3 separate regions of the Homo sapiens genome follow, and all the other regions are linked to region 2. Evidence: promoter capture Hi-C in 16 types of primary human blood cells and fetal thymus (Javierre and others, 2016). All regions are on one chromosome and are shown on one strand. The core of a region is centred on a gene start or on the middle of the fragment in contact, and the rest is flanking DNA. Distances in the headings are between cores, read along the strand shown.

What was found. The method cuts DNA at HindIII sites, captures the fragments that hold promoters and counts their contacts. A CHiCAGO score of 5 or more calls a contact.
Region 1: a contact is called between the fragment with the promoter of LAMP1 here and a fragment that was not itself captured in region 2, in 1 of 17 cell types (naive CD8 T cells). The highest score is 6.0, in naive CD8 T cells.
Region 3: the fragment with the promoter of GRTP1 here is called in contact with a fragment that was not itself captured in region 2 in 1 of 17 cell types (M1 macrophages); the score reaches 5.4 in M1 macrophages.

Annotation. Positions count from the first base shown.
Region 1 is chr13:113,295,989-113,300,986 of GRCh38, reverse strand. It overlaps LAMP1 (lysosomal associated membrane protein 1), which reads right to left and starts at 3,748. Exons shown (of 9, transcript NM_005561.4): 1 at 3,492-3,748. The coding sequence starts at 3,552. RefSeq lists silencers at 787-866, 739-1,033, 3,338-3,617 and an enhancer at 2,928-3,107. The HindIII fragment of the contact is 11,770 bases long and covers 1-4,998 here.
Region 2 is chr13:112,969,025-112,973,950 of GRCh38, reverse strand. It overlaps MCF2L (MCF.2 cell line derived transforming sequence like), which reads right to left and starts at 4,737. Exons shown (of 30, transcript NM_001112732.3): 1 at 4,493-4,737. The coding sequence starts at 4,571. RefSeq lists a silencer at 4,802-4,861. The HindIII fragment of the contact is 516 bases long and covers 3,419-3,934 here.
Region 3 is chr13:113,361,481-113,366,266 of GRCh38, reverse strand. GRTP1 (growth hormone regulated TBC protein 1) reads left to right here and starts at 2,137. Exons shown (of 8, transcript NM_024719.4): 1 at 2,137-2,247; 2 at 2,357-2,505. The coding sequence starts at 2,216. GRTP1-AS1 (GRTP1 antisense RNA 1) reads right to left here. Exons shown (of 2, transcript NR_120385.1): 2 at 4,399-4,708. RefSeq lists enhancers at 1-577, 578-1,271 and a silencer at 2,259-2,553. The HindIII fragment of the contact is 5,619 bases long and covers 866-4,786 here.

The sequences.
Region 1 (4,998 bases), core at 2,499-4,998, 330 kb before region 2:
TAACGTTGTCTGGGATGGGGCTAATGCAATACAAATTCAAAATTACAGGGCTACAAAGACATTCTGACCTCAAATCTGCTGACAAATTCATTCTTTCCACCGCATAACTGACAATCTGCACAATCAAAGGTAACATCGGTTAGTAGAAAAAAAATTTTTTTCTTTGTTTTTTTGAGATGGAGTCTCGCTCTGTTGCCCTGAAGAGCAGTGGCACGATCTCGGCTCACTGCAACCTCCACCTTCCGGGTTCAAGCAGTTCTCCTGCCTCAGCCTCCTGAGTAACTGGGACTACAGGCCTGTGCCACTACGCCTGGCTAACTTTTTAAAAATATTTTTAAAAAGAATAGAGATGGAGTTTCACCATGTTGTGGCCAGGATGGTCTCGATCTCTTGACCTAGTGATCGGCCTGCCTCAGCCTCCCAAAGTGCTGGGATTACAGGCATGAGCCACCACACCCAGCTTTTCTTTCTTTTCTTTTTCTTTTTTTTTTTTTTTTTTTGACATTGAGTTTCGATTTTGTTGCCCAGGCTGGAGTGCAATGGCACGATCTCAGCTCCCTGCAACCCCTGCCTCCCAGGTTCAAGCAATTCTCCTGCCTCAGCCTCCCACGTAGCTGGAATTACAGGCGCCTGCCACCACACCACGCCTGGCTAATTTTTGTATTCTTAGTAGAGACGGGGTTTCACCACATTGGCCAGGCTGGTCTCAAACCCCTGACTTCAGCTGATCCGCCCACCTGGGCCTCCCAAAGTGCTGAGATTACAGGCGTGAACCACTGCACCCAGCCGAGTATAAAATTGTTCAAACCTCCTAAGTGACAGTTGTTCAAGTGGAAAGGGTAAGGCGGTCATCCTGCTGACATCAATGGTTTAAAGGGTCACATTACGCAATCACAGCTAATCCTATCTATCAGGACAAGTTTCAGTTCATGTTTGAGCTTTCTAAGTATTCAAACACAGTAGCTTTAAACAATGCCTAATTATTAATATAGTGGAAATTTGTAATTGAGCAGTTTCTTTTTTTAAGAAAAAAGGATTTTTGGTGAAATCGCACATTAAAATAAACATTTTAAATATCTTTAAATGCAAGTTGTTAAAAGGCCTTTTTTAAAAGTTGGATTTTGGCTAGGCACGGTGGCTCATGGCTGTAATCCCAGCACTTTGGGAGTCTGAGGCAGGTGGATCACGAGGTCAGTTCGAGACCAGCCTGGCCAGCATGGTGAAACCCCATCTCTACTAAAACTACAAAAATTAGCCAGGCATGGTGGCGCGCACCTGTAGTCCCAGCTACTAGGGAGGCTGAGGCAGGAGAACTGCTTGAACACAAGAGGCGGAGGCTGCAGTGAACGGAGATCACGCCACTGCACTCCAGCCTGGGTGACAGAGTGAGACTCTGCCTCAAAAAAAAAAAAAAAAAATTCTTGGGCCAAGTACGGTGGCTCAAACCCGTACTCCCAGCACTTTGGGAGGCAGAGGGAGGCGGATCACGAGGTCGGGAGATCGAGACCAGTCTAACCAACATAGTTAAACCTAGTCTCTACCAAAAATACATAAATTAGCCTAGCATAGTGGCGGGTGCCTGTAATCCCAGCTACTCAGGAAGCTGAGGCAGAAGAATTGCTCGAACCCAGGAGGCAGAAGTTGTAGTGAGCCGAGGTTGTGCCACTGCACTCCAGCCTGGGCACAGAGCAACTCCGCCTCAAAAAAAAAAAGTTAAGATTGTAAACATAAAAGATATAATGGAACAGATCTTAGAAGACTGATTACACAAGCAATATTCCAATCACAATATTAGGGAGTTATGGATTTTTTCTCTTCATTTTTAAAGTTAATTTTTTTTTTGTTTTGAGACGGAGTCTCCCTCAGTTGCCCAGGCTGGAGTGCAGTGGCTTGATCTCAGCTCACTGCAACCTCTGCTTCCCGGGTTCAAGCAATTCTTCTGCCTCAGCCTACCAAGTAGCTGGGATTACAGGCGTGCGCCACCATGCCCAGCTAATTTTTGTATTTTTGTAGAGACCGGGTTTCGCCATATTGGCCAGGCTGGTCTCGAACTCCTGACGCCATGATCCATCTGCCTCGGCCACCCAAAGTGTTGGGATTAAAGGCGTGAGCCACTGCTCCCGGCCTGAAGTGAGTTTTTAAAACATGAAACAAAACATCAAAGTTATGAGGCTTGTGAGCATCTGTAACAAAGAACAATGCAGTTGCTGTGACATGACAAAACTTGTTTCTGCAACTCCTTTCATTAACTACACCTGACCCTGTCGCAGGAGCTGAGCAAGGCTTCAGGCTTACTATTGGAATAAGTTCATCTCTGTGGCTATTCAGGCAGTTCAAAGAATTCATTTTACACAACAGGCAAAACAAAAAAGGGAAGCCAAGATCCATTCACTCACAGTAACAGAGTTTTACAGCTGGATGGGACTGAGGGATTTAAAGAAGTCAAGGCAGATGTGTACAGGAGTGTATTTCTATATCTACTTAACTCACACACACTCCCCCAGCTTGATTCTACATCACCTTTCAGATCCTGGCATTTAAGATAATCTTCTCATATTACGGGGGAGGGCGGCGGGGGGAGGAGGTGAAAGAATAGTGTTGGCGGGGGGCAATCCGGACTGTCTTAAAGAGACAGCACACATCCTCTTATTAAGACAATAAATGAGAACGAAATTCACTAGTCAATACAATATTGAGCACCTACTGCCCATCTGAGCTCTATAAACTGACAGAAGAGAAGGGTGCTTCCCCACGTGTTCCCTGGTCCCGCATTTCGGCCTACAGGAACGGCGCTCTTTAAACTACTTACTAGACATGAACATTGCCACCGTGAGTCTGAGGCCAGCTTTCCCTCATCTTGTCTACTACGGAATCTTGTGAAATCCCAAAGATAACTTTAAAAATTATTTTAACATACATGTGAATTCACAATAACATAAATACACTCGCATCTCCTCCACACCGCTGAAAGAGGAGAAAGGTTCAAGTACAAAGGTGGGGAATGCTCGCACCGGCTTCTCCCTGTCCTGGGTGAAATCCATGTTGGGAAGAGCTTGATCTAGGTCACCCACCCGGGAGCTGAGACCACAGACGTCCCTGCCACCTTCGGCGGCGCAGCCTCGTCTAGATCTCACCGCCTCAACTTGCCAGGAAACTTAACGACCTGAAAGCACCAGACCGCCGAGCAAGCCATCGGAAGTTCCCTTTCGCACTCACCACCACAGAAAAACTGAGTTCAGTGAGACAGACCTTAGAGGAGCCAGGTCCTGGGATGAGACCTCCTGGTCCCCCAAGCACCTGCCATTGAGCTCCGCTCCGACCCTACGACCCCGAGAGAAACACCCGCCCGCGGGCAGAGCCGGCCGGGACCAGGAGCAGTGGGTGCGGGGCGACCCGCGGGACAACGACCCGGCAGTCCCCCGCCCTCAAGACCCAGGGACCTCGGCTCCGCCCGGTCCCGCCGCTCCCAGGCCCCGCCTCGACCCCCTCACCGAGCAGCAGCAACAGCAGTAGCAGCAGCAGGGGTCGCCGGGCGCTGCCGGGGGCCGCCATGGCGCGAGGCGGCCGGGTACGGTGCGGGGAGCGGGGGCGCGGGCGGCGGTTGGGCCGCGGACTGCCGGGCGCTGCGGTGGCGGGGCGCGGGCGCCAAGGGCTGGCGTTAGAGACAGCGGCGTTACCAGACGCAAGAGGCCCGGCCACTGCGACGCCGGCACGAAGAAGACACCGCGGCCGGCAGCGCTTGTCACGTGAGCTGCGCCGCGCCCGGGCGTCACGTGATCCCGCGGGTCTCGCGAGAGCGCGCGCGTCGAGCGCCGGCGGCTCGGCTCCCCGCAGGTGCGGCAGCTTCCAGCACCGCGCGCCCCCTCACGCGTGATGCAGGCCGACACGTGACCCGCAGCGGCACGTGACCCGCAGCGGCACGTGACCCTGGACCCACGTGACCCGGCCTGGTCCGGGGGACTGGGGCCGAGCCGAGGTCCTGAAACGGGAAGTGGGCTGGGTTCGCGGAAAAGGAAGAGGAAGAGTAGTGGCGGGAGAAAGTGAGGAAAGAGGAAGCCCGCGAGGGGAGAAAGGGCAGACGGATCGCGGACGCCCAGGCCTCCCTTCAGCCTGCGAGGCGTCCCAAACGCGGGCTCTTTATGGACAGGAGGGTGGTGTGGGTGGCAGCGCGGGTGACCGGCCGGGTGCGCGGCCAGGGATGGGCGAAGGGTTTGTCTTTTGGTGAGTGGGAAGCAAGTTCCTCACACAGGGAGGCCACTGTGCCCAAACTCTTGAGTGGTTTTAGGAAGGAAATAAGGGATCTGAAATGGGTCAGTGCGGCCTTCCGCTCGTTAATCGCGGGCTGAGGGAAGACGGCACCAGGCTGCCCAAGGTGAAGGTGAAGGTGCGATGGCGATACTCTTTGGCTTACAGAAAGTTCCTGTCGAGCACTTTGTTTTTTTTTTTGAGACGGAGTCTCGCTCTGTCGCCCAGGCTGGAGTGCAGTGGCGCGATCTCGGCTCGCTGTAACCTCCGCCTCCCGGGTTCAAGCGATTCTCTTGCCTCAGCCTCCCAAGTAGCTGGGATTACAGGCGTGCGCCACCACGCCCGGCTGATTTTGTATGTTGAGTAGAGACGGGGTTTCACCAGTTGGCCAGGCTGGTCTCGAACTCCTGACCTCAAGCAATCCACCCGCCTCGGCCTCCCAAAGTGCTGAGATTACAGCCCTGAGCCACGGCGCCTGGCTCCTGCATTTTAGAAGTCTGAAGATGCTCTGTTTTTTGGCTTGTCATCATATAGGATTTATGGCCTTTTGTTAAAATACTATTTAATTAAGGCCCCTACGCTACTGCTTTGTATAAAGCACCCGTCGCATAAGTACCTACATCTTAGAAAAAGATTTAATCTTACATTTCAAAAGGCATCATAGCAACGGGGACTGGATGTGCACCTAGTTAATAGAGACAGCACTCAGCCAGATAAAGACAGGACCAGGCACTCACTATCAGTCCTCACCAG
Region 2 (4,926 bases), core at 2,427-4,926:
CCATCCCAAGGCACAGGTGCAGCGTGAAAAGGGGCCAGTGACTCAGGAGGCGGTGGCCAACACAAGTCCCCATGAAACTCGGAACACACCTCGCAGGCATCCCCTTCTCAGGTGCTGCCTGGCATCACTCACTCCTGAGACCTTGCCTGTGGTCACTCAGCGCCAGCCCCTGGAGCCACGGGTCTCCCTGAAGGGCGCTCCAAGCAAACACAGGGCCGGCCCCCCAGTGTCCTCAGAGCAGGCCGGAACTGAAACCCCCGGGAGCTCATAAGTCTGCCCCTGGTTCCACAGGTGAAGCCGTGCTCGCGCCGTCTTCGCATGGAGGGCGTCAGACTCACCCAGCTGGGAGGCCTGAGCGCTGCGTTCTCAGGAGCTCTTGGGAAGCACTGAGCCGTGGCGTCAGATCACAGAAGGTCAGCAACACAGGACACCAAGGATGCTCAGAGGACTCACGGTTTCCTCACAAGCCTCCCTCCGCTCAAATCTCTAAAACCTGCTCCGGAATCCCTACTAACAAGATCCATAACAACATCCCATGAAAGCTAATTGTTTTTTAAATGTTTCTGTACTTTATAGTCACACCTATCTAATTAGAGACCTAAATTTCATGTTACAAAATAGTCAGCAACCCACACAGACGTACCTCATTTGGCTGCGTGGTTTTTCTCCTAAAGGGCCTCAGCACATTTAAAAAATGGACAAAGAAATCATGGCTCCTTGAGGAGACGCCAATCACTGAGGCCGAAGGCAGAGGCGTGAGAGGGGAGTGCTAAGGCGTCCGTCAGAAACCGCTGGGCTGGCTAATAAGCAGGTGGCATTTTGCCAGGGAGCCGCACCTACTCCACTGAGAGCTCTTCAATTCCACACAGAAATGCGTGCCCCTGCCTCCTGGGCGCGTCCCCCCAGAGCTTTTCCTCTGAGACCTGCAACTGGGGGGTGCCGAACAGCTGTGCCTGTGTGGTGGTCCTGGGAAGCCCCCTCATCCCCCAAAGCCCCTCCGTGCTGCTGTGTCCCTCAGCCCATTGCTCAGGCCACAGGCCCTTCCCAGGAAGAGCTTAAGGACAGGAGGCAGCACACAGCTTTTGCTCATCCATCCATCCATCCATTCATCCATCCATCCACCTTCCATCCATCCATCCACTCCTCCACTCCATGCATCCACTCATCTATGCATCCATCCCTCCCTCCCTCCATCCATCCACCCACCCATTCATCTATCCAGTCATCCAGTCATCCATCCATCCATACACCCATCCACCTACCCCTCCATCTACCTTACATACATATATCCACTCATCCATCTATCTACCAACTCATTCATCCATCCATCCATCCACTCATCCGTCCAAGCATCCACTCATCCATCCATCTACCCATTCATCATCCTCCATTTATCTATTTATCCATCCATCCACCCACACATCCATCCATCCACTCACACATCCATCCATCCATCATCATCCATCCATCCATCCACCCACACACCCACTCATCCACCCTTACATTCATCCACCCACCCATCCATCCACCCACTTATCCACTATCTACTAACTCATTTATCCATCCATCCATCCATCCATCCATCCATCCACCCACTTACACATCCATCCATCCATCATCATCCATCCATCCATCCATCCACCCACCCACACATCCATTCATCCACCCCTACATTCATCCACCCACCCATCCATCCACCCACCCACCCATCTACCCATTCATCCATCCATCCACTCATTTATCCATGCATTATCCATCTATCATCATCTGTCTATGACAAGAGTTAGTATTAGGTCAACTAATGGAAAAGGTGGGGCTAGATTTAAAGATTCTTCTACCACAGTAGTTCCCCAAGTTTGATTCCTGAAGAACTTCATCAAGAACTTAAGAAATGTCAATTATCAGACCCTACCCCAGACTTCCTGAATCAGAAACTCTGAGGGTGGGCCCAGCAGCCTGTGCTTTAACAAGCCCCCAAGGTGACGCATGTACATGCTGTAGTTGGAGGACCACTGTTCTGTTTCATCGAATGCTTAAATCAACTAGATCCATAGCATTGCTCCCTCGAATGTCTTCTACCTTTTCACCAATGACTAAAATTCCAAAGAGAAAACCAAAACAGACGAAAATGAGCCCTATCACATAGAAGGGGGGCCAGGGGGAAGTTGCCACTGGAAAGTGCCCCTGGCCTTGTTACTGAAGATCAGGTTCAGAAAAGTATATAAAATGTCAATTCTCAAGGTCAAAGGCTACAGATTCACAGACCATATGGACAGCACACATTATCCTCCTTTACATGCAGATTAGCCTAGCTAATGAAGGTTCTAGGTGACAGAAGAAATGCATAAATCTGAAATTAAAACACAGCAGCATGTCCTGGACAGCAGCAAAGATAAAATGCCTGTGGGTTGGGGGTGAATCTACAGAGGGTGAAGCTCTGCACAGCTGAATGAGGCAGCTGCTCTAAGGCCAGCCGCTGTACGCAATCCCTCAGCTGTGACCTAGCCCCGCCACTGCCCTGAGGACCTACACCAGCCGCCACATCAGTGTCCTGTTGCCATCAGCTTTTACCTGGCACGGATCCTAGCATGACCCCAGAAGGAGAAGCAGCTCCATGACCTCCCGCTGAAGAGTGTTTGGCTGCAGGTGGGGAACTCTCCTGAGGAAGTGCTTGGAATTTAAACCCGAGGTGGGGATCAGGTTTACCTTGACCTTCACCCCTACCAGAGAATGTGCACCACATACCCGTACACTCTGTGGTAGCATCATGTCAATACTGCATCATAAACCCCCTCATGATGGTTTTACAGCCTTCAACCTAATAACTTGCCTCCGCTGAGCAGTACCTCACACAGCGTGAGCAGAAAATGGGTTTGTGCTGAAGGAAGAGGCCAGTGTTAATGGGTGGTAAGTGGAGTATGATGCAGGGTCACCTCCCCTAACTAAACGCTACAGGGTGCTCATAACCGAGGATATCTGGTAAGCTGGACTTGAAAGTCCTGGTGAAGCATGCAATTATCGGTAATGCAGATGTGTGGGAGGACGCACATCTCACTGCCTGTTCCAGATGAGACGATGGCCCACACCGAGCGCCCGGCTCGCACGACATTCAGTGAGCAGACAGTGTCACTGCTGCTCTTCTGAGATAGCCTTTTTCCAATTAAAAATGCGCACATGTCTCTTGGAGCTCATGAAGAAACCCCAATCCCTAAAAACCTGGGGAATGACATCAGCCTCTGGAGCGGTTCCCACTCTGTGACTCTGACACCGAACGGCACGCAGAGGCATGCAGAGCAAGGGGGGCTTTCTCCTCCACCCCCACAGCCGATCGGAAGCCTCCCTGTGAACCTGGCATCCACGCAGCCCTTCACCATACTCAAACCCTGCAAACCCTGCACGGAAAAGCTCCACTCAAGCTTCAGAAAAAGAGCTGATTCTCTAAGAATCAGGGAGCAGACGGCATGAAAATGGTTTTGTTTTCTTTCGACCCACATACAATAAACCCAGCAGCTTTGATCATAAAAGCCCCCATTAAAAACATCTTGATTAGACCATCCCATACGATGGTGCTTATGCTGATTTAATCACTGGTTCACTCTCAGAATCCATCGGGGTGGGCAGAGAAAGAGAACCACACCCAAACCAAGCAACTGACATTTTAATCTCCCAGGCAAGTACTAGTTAGACAACTAGTAATGGCATATATGACATAACATATGGCAACATCAGGCAAAACACTTGGCAACTTACTTTTAATGATATATCATTATTTCCTCTTCATTTCAAGGAAAACGAGTTAAGGATGCCTCTCCCTTCTGCATAACACAGCCTGAGAACTCAGATGCGACCGCCTGAAAGCCACGGCCAGATGCAAGCTGTCAGCCCAGTCTCTGCTTACACCTAAAAGAATCGATCTGAACTACTCTTCAAAGCTTATTTGAAGTAATATTTCGATTAATACTGAAAATGAACGTCCAGTCCACTCTTTACCCATACCGTCTCAAACATCTGTCTTAGGTTTAAATTGCATTTAATGAAGAAAAGAACCACCTGATTAGTCCAGGTTTTTTCATCCTCAAAACGAGCTTCCAGGTAGCTTCACCATCCCTACCCCTGGCTCTGAAACCCCAAGCTCTGAAAGCCCTTGGCTCAGATCATTCTCCATTCGCAATGCATTCTCCATTGCGAGGGCTGCGGACAGGCAGGTTGATGGGCAGACTTCAGACACACAAATGGCTCCGCATGCAGACCCAGCAACCCTGAGAGAGCCAGTGTCACCAACGTGCAGTCATTTTGACTATCCCGGGCAGCATACGATCGCCGACAGCCTCTGAAAACACACCAGCTGCCAACCAGTGCCCCCCATGTCACAGCTACCACGGCTAGAAAGGAACACGAGGGCGGCTTACAAAAATCAGACGCATTTCCCCACATTTCAGCCCATGATGTCAAGCTTAAGCACAGATCACTGACGGCCAGCAGCTCCTCCTACCCGTGTGCTTGGAAACCGCATTTAATCTCTGCACCATTTCTTCCAAGGCCATCTCTTCAGTCCTCAGCCAAAACCTCATCCTCCGACACAACAAAAATGATCCTGGCAGATCCGCTTCCTCCGCACGGGGGGCGCCTGCGGGTGGGGCCGTGCGAGTGCGGAGGGGGCGCGGCGGAGGCGGGGAGGGGGCCACGGCAGCGCTTTCAGCCTCCAGCCGCCGCCTCCCTGCCCAGGATTGGTTCCGCGCCACCGGGAGGGGGGCGCGCGCTGCGCCGCGGGGGGCGGGGGGCGGCTCGGCGGAAGCGGAAGCGGCGCGCGCCCGCCCCGGTGTGTCACCACCGCGGGTCACCTGGGAGTCCTGTGAGTGCACCGCCGGGGTCACCTGGGAGCCCCGCGTGTCACCGCCGCGGTCGTCGGGGAGCCCCGGGGCTCAC
Region 3 (4,786 bases), core at 888-3,387, 390 kb before region 2:
GGGGGGGCGGTGAATGGAGGCACCTGAGGGACACAGTCCCAGGTGGGAGCTGTCCCAGGTGGGAGCTGTTCCAGATAGGAGCTGCTGTCTCCCAGTCAGGTCCCAGGTTGGGGCTTGGCCAGGCCTGGGCTGGAGCGGGAGACCTTTCTAGCTGCCTCGGTCTGGCTGCCCACCCTGCACAGAGCCTGGGGCTCTGGCCTCTCTGTATCTCTCCTCTCCACTCTTCCTGGAGGGCACCGCTCTTATCTGACCTGCTCCCCCACAGTCTCCCTACATCTGGCCCAAAAATACACTTGGTGGCAGTCCCGCCATCACACTCAGGCTCGGGAGCTGGCGGCCCCTGGTCCGTGCTGCCTGCCACGCTGCTTTCCACGGCAGTGGTGGGAAAGGGAGGTTAGAACCCCATCTCCATGGCCAGAAGGCAGGAATTAGGGAAAAGGGGAGCCGTGAGGCTTCCAGGCCTGGGGTTGGAACAGAAGCTGCGCGGTGTGGGGCGATTTGGGCGCAGGACCCCGGGTGCTGGGAAGTGGGGAGCAGGACTGTGTCTGTTGCTCCAGAAAGCGCGAGGGATGCGATATAGGAAATTCGGGCGTCAGTTAGAGCCCGAGAGGGGTTCAGGGAGTCACTGACTTAGGCAGAGAGGAGCCCAGACGGGGTTCGAAGACCCTGGGGACGGACGCCCACCTGTCAGTCCTGGACTGTGGGGCACCCGTAGGCCGAGGGGCAGGAGGCTATGGCCCTGTCTCCTGGCTTGGGTCTAAACATCCCAAGGAGGTCAGACCGTAGAGTGGGGGCTGTGTGATCTTTCAAATGAGGGACGCCGCGTGTTACCAAAGGCCAGTGCTGAGGAGCTGGGCTGAAAGCTTGGGGAGTTCCCAGAACCAGCAGACTAGGAACGGGAGGAACCGTGTCGGGGGCTCTGCTCCGCTGGGCACTGACCCCCACCCCGCCCCCCGGTCTTGCAAGGGCTGGAGAAGGGTGAAAGGCAGAGGCGGGAGTCCGCACTTAGGGACCGGTCCGTTCCACACGCTGCTGACCAGGCTCCTGGGTGGCGCTCGCATGGAACATTCCGGAAACACCCATGGGAAGGTCCCAAGTTGGTTCCGAAAGGCCCTGACGGACGCGCAGGGGACGCTGAGCCTGTGATCCTCGCCTCACCCAGACGAGGCCGGGCTGCTTCTCACAGGAAAGTGCGTCTGGAGTCCGGGGACGGCCTCCTCCTGGGGCCTGTCCAGGTCGCCCTGGGCCTAAATTACAGGCGGGGAGAGGCCTGTCGGAGGAGCCCCCGCTCCAGACCCCTGGGGGACCCAGGGCGAGGTCGCCCCAGCGCCTCACGTCTGGGGGCTCCCCTTTGCCACGTCGCCAGAGCAAAATTCAAAATCTGCAGTTCTGGCAAATTTCCGGGGCCTCCCGGACACGAAAAGCAGCTGAAATCTCAGGACAATGTCATTGGATGCGGACCGAGAAGAAGCCGTTCGGAACCAGAGCTGCCCCGGATTCTCCCAGGCCTGGCTCGCCGGTGGGGGGACCCCGGTCCCTGGTTTGGGGGGGCAGGAACGGGCGGGCGCCCCTGGGGGCTTCTCATTTGTGTGTTGGTCTCGGCCTTGAAATGCAGCGGAGAAAATAAAAAATAAAATAAAAATAGGAGTCAGGTGTCAGAGTCGGGTCGGCCAGGCACTGAGGTTTGAAGGAATCGCAGAAGAAGCTCCTCTCACCCGGGTCCAGGCCGCGGGGGTTCTGCGGGAGGCGCCCCCGATTCTGCCCGCGGGACGCCGCGGCCTCGGAAGCCCCGGGAGCAGGCCCCGCCCCGCCCCCACCCTCCTCTCTCCCCAAGTCCTCCCGCCCCCCCAGCCCCGCCCCTCCCCCGCCCTGGGTGCTCCCCTGCCCCTCCCCCGGCCCTCCCCCGCCCCTCACCCGCTCCTGCCCCTCCTCTCTCCCCAGGTCCTCCCGCCCCCAGCCCCGCCCCTCCCCCGCCCTGGGTGCTCCCCTGCCCCTCCCCCGCTCCTGCCCCTCCTCTCTCCCCAAGTCCTCCCCGCCCCCAGCCGCCCCTCCCCCCGCCCTGCCCCCCCCCGCCCCCGCCTCCAGCCCCGCCCCTCTCCGCTCCCCGCCCCGCCCCCACGCGCCCGCGGTCCCGCCGGAAGGACTTAAGCGCCCCGGAGCCGGGAGGCGAACTTGGGACCCGCTGGCCTCGCTCGGTGCGCGCCTCCCTCCCCGCATGCAGCCCGCCGAGCGCTCGCGGGTCCCCAGGTGTGTGGCGCGGGGTGCGGGCGTCCCCGGCGGCTGCGGTCCCCGCGCGGGCCCGCGACCCCCCAGAGGAAACTTCGGGGACGCCGGCCTCCTTCTCTCGGTTTTGCAGGATCGACCCGTACGGATTCGAGCGGCCTGAGGACTTCGACGACGCCGCCTACGAGAAGTTTTTCTCCAGCTACCTGGTCACGCTCACCCGCAGGGCGATCAAATGGTCCCGGCTGCTGCAGGGCGGGGGCGTCCCCAGGAGCCGGACAGGTGGGTCCCGGGGGCGCAGGTGGGTCCCGAGGGCGCAGGTGGGTTGGGCTGGGACGGGCCGGGCAAAGTCCGGGCTCCCGGAGCGGAGGGAGGGGGAGGAACCTTTCCGGGCAGGTCGGGACGAAGCTGCGGGCTCCGAGCTAGGGCAGCCGCAGGGACCGGTTTTCCCGCTTTGAGATGGGCCGGCGGGTCGGACGCGAAGGAGACCCGTCCCTCCCAGCAGGGAGCCATATCGGGATGGATCAAAACTCGATCCATGCCGGGCGCGGTGGCTCACGCCTGTAATCCCAGCGCTTTGGGAGGCCGAGGCGGGCGGATCACGAGGTCAGGAGTTTGAGACCAGCCTGACCAACATGGTGAAACCCCGTCTCTACTAAAAATACAAAATTAGCCGGGCGTGGTGGCTCCTGCCTGTAGTCCCAGCTACTCTGGAGGCTGAGGCAGGAGAATCGCTTGAACCCAGTAGGCGGAGGTTGCAGTGAGCCGAGATTGCGCCATTGCACTCCAGCCTGGGCGACAGAGCGAGACTCCGTCCTTGTGACGGGACCCACAGGGCCCTGCTCGACCTGCCGCTCCTCCGCGACCCCAGGCCTCCTACTGCTGCGGTGAGCACCGGCCTGACCGCCCGCCCGCCTCGGGGTTAGCTGCAGGGCCCCCTCCTCCGGGGCGCCCCAGGCTTCCCTGTGCGGAGGGCACCTCCTCATTTCTGCCTTTCCCAGCACAGCCCCTGCTGGAGTCAAAAACCCTTCCTCCCTGCAACGGATTTTTCATTCACTGCTCAGTCCTCAGAACCTGGGGCAGTGCCAGGCGACTTCCCTGTGTGTTCAGTGAATGAATGAAGTGTCTGCCTGGGGTGAGGGCTTGGTGGGAGTGTGCCCTGGAGCTAGGAACTCAGAGAAGTGGGGTCAAAGGGGAGTCCTGGGGGCTTCCTGAGAAGGGGGATGTGAATGGCAGCTGGGCTTCCAGGGACCGAGCAGTAGGGACCTGGTGGGGAAGGACAGAGATGAAACCAGGGGCCCTGCACCTGGGCGGAGGGTCGGAGGTGTGTGGTGACCACGGCCAGGCACAGAGAAGCCAACTGTTAAAGGTTTTCCAGGCAGGGGGTGACAAGATCAACTTTTGCTTTTATTTATTTATTTGAGACAGGGTATCCCTCTGAGTGCAGTGGCACAATCACCACTCACTGTAGCCTTGACCTCCTGGGCTCCAGCCATCCTCCCCTCTCAGCCTCCCGCATAGCTGGGACCACTGGTGTGGCCACCACTCCTGGCTAATTTTTAAATTTTTTATAGAGATGGAAGTTAATATCCTATATGCTTCCCACGAATGCATCATGTCCCATCCCTGTGGCCTCTGCATGTTCACATGTTTCCAGTGGAACGTGTGTCTTTATTTTTCCTTTTCATTTATTCTTTTTGATTTATTTATTTTTGAGACAGAGTCTCACTCTGTCGCCCAGGCTGGAGTGCAGTGGTGCGATCTCAGCTGACTGCAACCTCCACCTCCTGGGTTCAAGTGATTCTCCTGCCTCAGCCTCCTGAGTAGCTGGGATTACAGGTGCACACCACTACACCTGGCTAATTTATTTTTTATTTTCTTATTTTTTTTATTTTGAGACGGAGTCTCACTCTGTCGCCCAGGCTAGAGTGCAGTGGCATGATTTCAGCTCATTGCAACCTCTGCCTCCTGGGTTCAAGCGATTTTCCTGCCTCAGCCTCCCAAGTAGCTGGGATTACAGGCACCTACCACCACGCCAGGCTAATTTTTCTATTTTTTAGTAGAGATGGGTTTTACCATATTGGCCAGGCTGGTCTCAAACTCCTGACCTCAAGGGATCTGCCCACGTTGGCCTCCCAAAATGCTGGGATTACAGGCATGAGCCACTGCGCCTGATTTATTCTTAAAAGTTAACTGTCTTTTAATTTTAAAAAGTAACGTAAAAGTATATAAGACATGTGAACTTAAAAAGCATAATTTATGTACATGGTAAACACTTTAATCATACTGAGGGCTACAAAGTGCAACAGGGAGTTTCTCTCCCACCCATGGCCCCCATCTCCTATAGAGATGACCGCAGGGGACTGTCCTTCCGTCCCCCTCAGGAGCAGAAGTCCACGCTTGGTTCTGCAGTTTGCTTTAAGAGCAGGGGAAGTCCGTGGGAAGTCCTGTGGCTGTGACCTGGAGGTTGGTTACAGCGGAGAATCTGAAAGATGTATGGTTGTGCATAAATTTTTGTTTTTACAGAAAACACAACTGCACAGTCATTCTCCCGTCTTTGCCT